Regions from separate parts of the Homo sapiens genome. Here region 1 is linked to region 2. The links are contacts of gene promoters, found by promoter capture Hi-C in blood cells and fetal thymus (Javierre and others, 2016). All regions are on one chromosome and are shown on one strand. Each heading gives the region's core, a stretch centred on a gene start or on the middle of the fragment in contact. The rest is flanking DNA. Distances are from core to core; before and after follow the strand shown. Region 1 overlaps CCNF (cyclin F). Region 2 holds the start of RNPS1 (RNA binding protein with serine rich domain 1).

Region 1 (3,543 bases), core at 1,043-3,542, 190 kb after region 2:
GTCCAACTTGGAAGAGGCATGTCACCCACGCTTCTCACCACAGGAGGGTAACACAGGGGACCGTAGCAAGGTAGAAGATTCTTGACCTGGACTTCAGGGTCCTGACCTGGCAGGGGGTCTCCCCTGATGCTTGGGTGTGACATGACTTCCCTCCCCACCAACCTTCCTGCAGTGACAGCTCCCAGCGGCATCCTCGATGTCACCGTGGTCTACCTGAACCCAGAACAGCATTGCTGCCAGGAATCCAGTGATGAGGAGGCTTGTCCAGAGGACAAGGGACCCCAGGACCCACAGGCACTGGCGCTGGACACCCAGATCCCTGCAACCCCTGGACCCAAACCCCTGGTCCGCACCAGCCGGGAGCCAGGGAAGGACGTCACGACCTCAGGGTACTCCTCCGTCAGCACCGCAAGTCCCACAAGCTCCGTGGACGGTGGCTTGGGGGCCCTGCCCCAACCTACCTCAGTGCTGTCCCTGGACAGTGACTCGCACACACAGCCCTGCCACCATCAGGCCAGGAAGTCATGTTTACAGTGTCGTCCCCCAAGTCCCCCGGAGAGCAGTGTTCCCCAGCAACAGGTGAAGCGGATAAACCTATGCATACACAGTGAGGAGGAGGACATGAACCTGGGCCTTGTGAGGCTGTAAGTGTGTCAGCACATTTGCCGCAGTGGATGTGTACTGAGGGGGCTGGAGGCGAAGGGTGGGAGCATAGCATAGGAACGCTGCATAGACCATGGAGGCCTTTGCGCAGAGAGCAGAGAGGATGACTTGCGGCCACCAAGTTTCTGTCTCCGCGGGAGTCCCGTGCAAGCCATCAGAATGTTGAAATGAGGGTGAAGAGCTCAGATCCCTCTCTTTGGAAAGTTTAGCCTGGAAGCAGTTGGCCACACTGTGTGGAGGGCACCTCTCTGTCCCTTCCGTGTCTCACTGTCTCTGGAAGCTTCAGCCCATGTGTGTCCTGGTGTTCCCAGCCCCACCAGAGCCCCGTGCCGGGAGCTGACAGCTTTCACGCTTAAGGCACGTGTGACCTGGGTAGTCAGACACCACTTGAGCCCCTGCCCACATCTGCTGGTTTGGGGCTTCAGTGGGGAGCTGACAGCTGTGAGCACACCACTGTCCCCTCATCCACCTCGGCCTGCATGGGGCACCCACTTCCTTCTGGGTGGGGCTTCCATGGTAAGGGGGCCTGCGTCCCTGCACACTGCGAGGACTGCCTTGGCCACAGGCCCACTCCCTACGACACGTGACTCGTTTTAGAGCTCTGTCCCAGAGGCGTTCGTATGTGACCCACAGATGGCGTCAATGTGAACACCTCTCTTTGTGCTGAATTTCTGGGCCATTCTTTTCCTGTCTTATTTCTAAATTTCCTTCTTCCAAGATGAAAACAAAAGAAAAACTTAAAACAGAAGGTATTAAAAAAACAAGAGATTCCCACCATTATTTAGGTTCACCTGCAAAACAAAAATCTTACTCCAGCCCCTCAATGCCATCCTGACACACTTTATGCAAAAAGAATTTTCCCAGATAGGCTAGCCAGAAAAAACTTCAAGTCCTCTGTAACATCTGAGGTGACCAAGAGGCAGAAGAGCAGAGCAGTCGGGGGCCGTGTCCTGGCTGATCCCAACTGCAGCTCTGCTGTGGGGGCCCGTGGGAGGGAGGCAGACCCCTGGGCTTTCCTGCTGGCCACGGAGACTCTGCTCCTGCATGGAAAGGGAGCCTGGGAGCCAGCAGCCCACGCCTGGGGAGCCTGCCTGGGGCCATGTGACCATGGCCTCTCCCTGGGAACGGGCTGACCACAACACACCCTGCTGCCATCCACTTCTGTTTACTCTGCAAATGTAAGAAAGAACCACTTGGCCAGAAGTGTCCCCCAGATGCTTTTTTTTTTTTTTTTTTGGAGACAGTTTTGCTCTTGTCTCCCCGGCTGGAGTGCAGTGGCATGATCTCAACTCTCAACTCACTGTAACCTCCGCCTCCCGGATACTCCTGCCTCAGCCTCCTGGGTAGCTGGGATTACAAGCACCCAACCACGCCCAGCTAATTTTTGTATTTTCGGTAGAGACGGGATTTCACCATGTTGGCCAGGCTAGTCTCGAACTCATGACCTCAAGTGATCCGCCCACTTCGGTCTCCCAAAGTGCTGGGATTACAGGCATGAGCCACGGCGCCTGGCCCCCAAATGCTCTTGAACCGGAAACCCAGGGATGGGAGATGCTCACTGAGCTGCTGCTTTTATGTGTGCTGGTGCTATGTGTGTTCATGTCCGCGGCAGCTGTCTTTTTGCTACTATAAGGGAATTCTGGCCACCCTGGGTGGGGTGTGGTCGGGGTGAGAACCCAAGCGTTGGAACTGTAGACCCGTCCTGTCGACTGTGTGCCCCTGGGCATGTGTGAGCCTCAGTTTCCTCATCTGTAAGGGGGGCAATGATACCTACCTCACAGGGGTGTTGTGAGGATTAAATGTGAGGAGGATAGTGGCAGATGAGTGATGGACGTCCTTCACTGCCTCGGCCCCTTGTCCAGGGGCTCTTAATCCCAACTCTGCATGGAGTCAGTTCTCTGCTTTCTCCCAGCTTGCACCTGAAGGAGGAAACCACTCCAGGGGGACCTGGCCCCGCCTGCCTGTGGTGGGTGGGTTCCTGCATCACCCACCTGCTGACTGAGCATTTCCCTGCCTCCTCCTTCACAGAGAATCTCCAGGGAGGCAGGGCCACCGTCACCCTCCCCCACCGCTGATGGAGGGGCCCACCCGGAGCGCTGGGCCAGAGCTGCCTGGGTCCCAACCTCCCTGACAACTCCCTTTGTGCCCTCCTTCCCCTCTGCGATGGCACCTTCCCATTAACGACTATGGAATGGACTCACCTGTCCCATCTTTAAACAGCAACCCCAGGCTCTGTTTTTCTTTCAGCTACCGCCTGGGATTTCTTGCCCCCTAATTGTTTATTCTTGTTAACACCAACTACATGGGGCCCTGCTGCCTTCCTCACTTCCTCCCTCAGGTGTCCCCCGCATCACCGAAGGCCCTGTACCCCCGCCCCCCTGCTGTGCTGTGTACACCGCCGAGGCCTCAGCAGCACTTGGCCTGTGACCCACTCCCTCCCGTGACAGCCTCCTGTTGCCTCTGTGACACTGTCCTACTGCTCCTCCACCTCCCTGGCCATTGCGTGGGCCCCGTGATCTGTCCCTACCCGTCCCCTGCCCCACCAGGGGCCACCTCGCCTGGCCCACTGCTCCAAGGTCTGAGCTTCCTCCCCTCTGCCCAGTGCTATCACGTCACATGTCCAAAAGTGAACACTTTCTCCTCCTTCATCCCCGCCCCTGACACGCGGAATCCTCACCTCCAGCAACCCCGTCCTGTCCCTGTGCTCGGTGGCCCAGGCGTCAGCAAGACGGCTGGTCCCTGCGTTAAGAGCACTTTCAATAAGGACAGATGGAGCCTCTCGTATAACCTTCACCGGCCCCCTGCAAGAGAAGCGCGATAATGGCGCCCCCATCTACCCAGTTACCCAAACCAAAATCCCGGCGTCGCCCGCAGTCACCT
Region 2 (3,391 bases), core at 209-2,708:
GTTCCTGCACCCACCCGCCTTCGAATCACCTGCAGCAGCACTGTCCAATAGAAACCGTGTGAGGAGCCACAAGCATCACCTGAAATTCCTTAGTAGCCACGTCACAAAAATGGGTGAAATTAATTTTTAACGTTTGACACATCCAAAATATTATCTTTCCAACATATAATCAACATAAACATCTAATAAAAGTTTGCTTTTTTCCTAGTCTTCTAAAACTGGTGTGTGTTTTAATATTTCAGTCTTGATTAGCTGTATTTCACATGCTTAGCAGCCACATGTGGCCAATGGCTACTTGGCTGGACAGCACAGACCTAGAGTGGAGGTCACACCCGCAGATTCCAGCCCCACCCCCCCAAGAACTAAGATCTGCCCGAATGTACTTGGTGAAATCAAACACCACCAGTTATTCTTAAGCACTCCAAACACTAAGAACCACTGAGTAAGCGGACGCCTTGCTGGGTGCGGTCGAGTGCTAGAAAGCAAAAGTTGAGGTTCTCTGTTCACCCAAGTTCAGGTACCGGCTCAGGACCTCGGTTACCTCCCCCATCCTCCGGAAAGGTGCGCGTCCAACAGCCAGAGAGAGGAGAGAACAATTAGTTAAATCTCGAGGAGAGGGCGTTTCGGCACAAATCTTCAGAGCACCTTCCCCATTTAAAAGTACATTTCAGGCACAGTTCATGCGGAATCAAGACAAAAAGCCTACTCCACGTTTCTCCTCCAACAAACTTAACCTTCCCGTATCCGCCCCTCTGGGGTAACCCATCAAACTGAGCTCGGCCACCGTGCTCGGTCCATAGTGGGCCGTATCCCCACGGCCTAGCGCCGATAATTGCACACGGGAGTCCGGGAAACGTTCGCGGAGTACACGTTTGAATTAATGACTCCGAAGGGGGGATCGGCCGACCTTCCACCGCATCCCACAAAGAAACTCCGCGCCCGCCGACACCGGCCCGACACGCCGACCTCGCCGCTACCCGTCCGCGTTCACTCACAACTCCCCCGTCCAGGCGCCGGGCCGCGAGCGCTTCCAGGGCAGGGCCTGGCGTTGGGGGCTTGGGTCTCCGGCCCGGCGGGAGGGCCCCAAGGGCGGAGGCCGCGCTCCCCGCTGGTCTGAGTCCCGCGGGCCTGGCTGGGCCACCGCCGAGCGGACGAAGCACAGGCGCCCTTCCGTCCGCAGCGGCCCCGACCACTTCCGGGCCACGGCCTCGACACCTCCCACTCCGCCCGCCCCGGGCCACACTCTTTCTTCTCGGAGCCCGCACCGCGCTGCCAGGCCACCGCCGCACTGCGGGGCTGAGGAGTGGACCGGCTTCACGAGGCGTCCTGCCGGGCCTGCCGGGCAGCCCCCGAAACACGGATGCAGTCGGATTCCGCCCCAACTTACATCTTCCCGCCGCCGCCACCTCCTCCTGCTTTCCTCAGCCGCCGAGGCCGGCGCCGCTCTGACGTCAGAGTCAAGGAGCGGGAAGTCGCCGCCGCCCGGCGCGCAGCGATGACGTAAACGCCTGGCCCAATGGGCGCCAGCGAGGAAGCGTTAAAGAGTCAAGGCAGTTTGTGGGAGTCGCGCTGGGGACGTTCAAGGTGTCTCCTAGCCGGTAAAGTCCCTGGGACTGACCGGGCTGGTTGCACGCTTACTGGAGCGGGCACATGGGTAGCCTGTTGAACCTGGGAGGGCAGCGCGATGACCGAGGCTCGTCCTCCGGCGCGGAGGGTGTTAACGCGCCCGTGCCCCGCCCCTTTCCTTGCGCGGGCGCACTGGGCCCGCCCGGGCAGACTCCGGCCCCTGTCGCCGGCGGTGGAGGCGGGGCTCCGGGCCGGGCTGTGCTGAGGCCGGCGGGGTGGTAGCACAGGAGGGGTTCGCAGGCTCTGCGGCCGTGCGTGGCGGGGCGTGGGGGCCCGCAGGGCGGAAGTAGCTCGGAGAGACGGGCTGGGGCAGGGCGTGCGTTCGTGCGGTCAAAATCCACTGGTGGCGTTTGGGGTGTTCCCGTGGACGCGGCCTCCCGGCAGGCGGACCTCCACCGGGTGGGCGCGGCAGGCGGGCTGTGCGGGCAGGAAGAGCGACGAGCTTGAGAGTGGGAGATGGGGTGCAACGGCGGGCCTCTCCGGGGAGGTGACACTGCCGCTGAGACCCGAATGGAAGGGCGCGCCCGGCGGGGGAACAGCAGGCGCCGAGGTTCGCTGGAAGCAGGGAAGGGAGGCCCGGGTACCGGCTCGCAGGCCCGCGCGAGCTTCGCGGCAGCGGCACGGAGCGTGTGAACGGCGCAGCGCCGAGGCTTCATCCATCGGCCGGTGCAGGGTCCGGGCAGGGAGCACTGTCGACCAGGGTCCGACCCTGGGAGAGTCCAGAGGTGGCGCCTCTGGCAGGGACAGAGGAGGGGGTGACGCTGTAGGGGTGCAGGCAGGAGGCTCCGCGTCAACTCCCCACACTGACGGGGCGGATTTTTTTTTTTTTTTGACAGAGTCTCGCACTGTTGCCCAGGCTGGAGTGCAGCGGCGCGATCTCGGCTCACTGCAACCTCCGCCTCCCGGGTTCAAGCGATTCTCCTGCCTCAGCCTCCCGAGTAGCTGGGATTACAGGCGCACACTACCACACCCGGCTAATTTTTTTTGTATTTTTCTGGTAGAGACAGGGTTTCACTATGTTGGCCAGACTGGTCGAGAACTCCTGACCTCGTGATCCGCTCCTAGGTTCGCCTTGGCCTCCCAAAGTGCTCGCTCCTGGGCGTCCCAAAGTGCTGGGATTACAGGCGTGAGCCACCGCCCCCGGCCGAGGGCGGGTTTTGTTCTCTGCTGTGCCTGTCAGGCAGTCGTTGCCCTGTGGTTATTTGTGGAGGGATTGACGGTGCGCTGAGCTTCAGACTTTGTCTGAACAGCTTCGTGGCAGCAAGGAAGGGAGAAGGGAACAGATCCAAGCCGATCTTTGGGAGGAGAGAACCAGCATGACTTGGAGACTTTAGATGTCAGAGCAAAGGACAGGGTGCAGCTTGGTGACCCGGAGTGGGTGGGTGGGTGAATGGATGGATAGATAGTGGGGATGTGGTCTGCCATCACTGCCCTCTTCCCTGTGTGGGAAGCCAGCTCTTGGTGACTTCCTGCCGAGACCCACTCCCTCTGGCCCTGTCCGAGGGTGTCAAGTGTGCCCTTGACCCTTCACCCTGGGCTAAGGGATGTCCAAGGAGTTGGGGACAAAGGCAGCTAGGAGGAGGAGCTACCTCCCGAGTCTGCTGCAGTAAGTCACCAGTGTGTTCCTGTGGGTGGAGGCTGGCAGGCCCATCAGTCTGGTTTGGGTACCCGTTGGATTTGGGTTTGATGACATGTAAAGTGAGTTAGAGTCTCTGCATTACTGTCACACCTGCTGTGCCCAGGCATGGAAGATTAAGTGGAACAG

The links. The method cuts DNA at HindIII sites, captures the fragments that hold promoters and counts their contacts. A CHiCAGO score of 5 or more calls a contact.
Region 1: a fragment that was not itself captured here is called in contact with the fragment with the promoter of RNPS1 in region 2 in 3 of 17 cell types (erythroblasts, M1 macrophages and endothelial precursors); the score reaches 7.4 in erythroblasts.

Annotation. Positions count from the first base shown.
Region 1 is chr16:2,456,373-2,459,915 of GRCh38, forward strand. CCNF (cyclin F) reads left to right here. Exons shown (of 17, transcript NM_001761.3): 17 at 173-2,482. The coding sequence ends at 648. It overlaps LOC105371050 (a long non-coding RNA gene), which reads right to left. Exons shown (of 5, transcript NR_188689.1): 1 at 3,542-3,543; 2 at 3,341-3,464; 3 at 2,438-2,582; 4 at 462-594; 5 at 1-213. Among named protein-coding and RNA genes, the nearest start is that of TEDC2, 2.0 kb to the right of the region's middle. RefSeq lists enhancers at 2,211-3,025, 3,256-3,345. The HindIII fragment of the contact is 2,703 bases long and covers 942-3,543 here.
Region 2 is chr16:2,266,668-2,270,058 of GRCh38, forward strand. It overlaps RNPS1 (RNA binding protein with serine rich domain 1), which reads right to left and starts at 1,459. Exons shown (of 8, transcript NM_080594.4): 1 at 1,388-1,459. MIR3677HG (MIR3677 and MIR940 host gene) reads left to right here and starts at 1,996. Exons shown (of 3, transcript NR_132988.1): 1 at 1,996-2,176. RefSeq lists an enhancer at 1,267-1,526 and a silencer at 1,657-2,106. The HindIII fragment of the contact is 12,073 bases long and covers 1-3,391 here.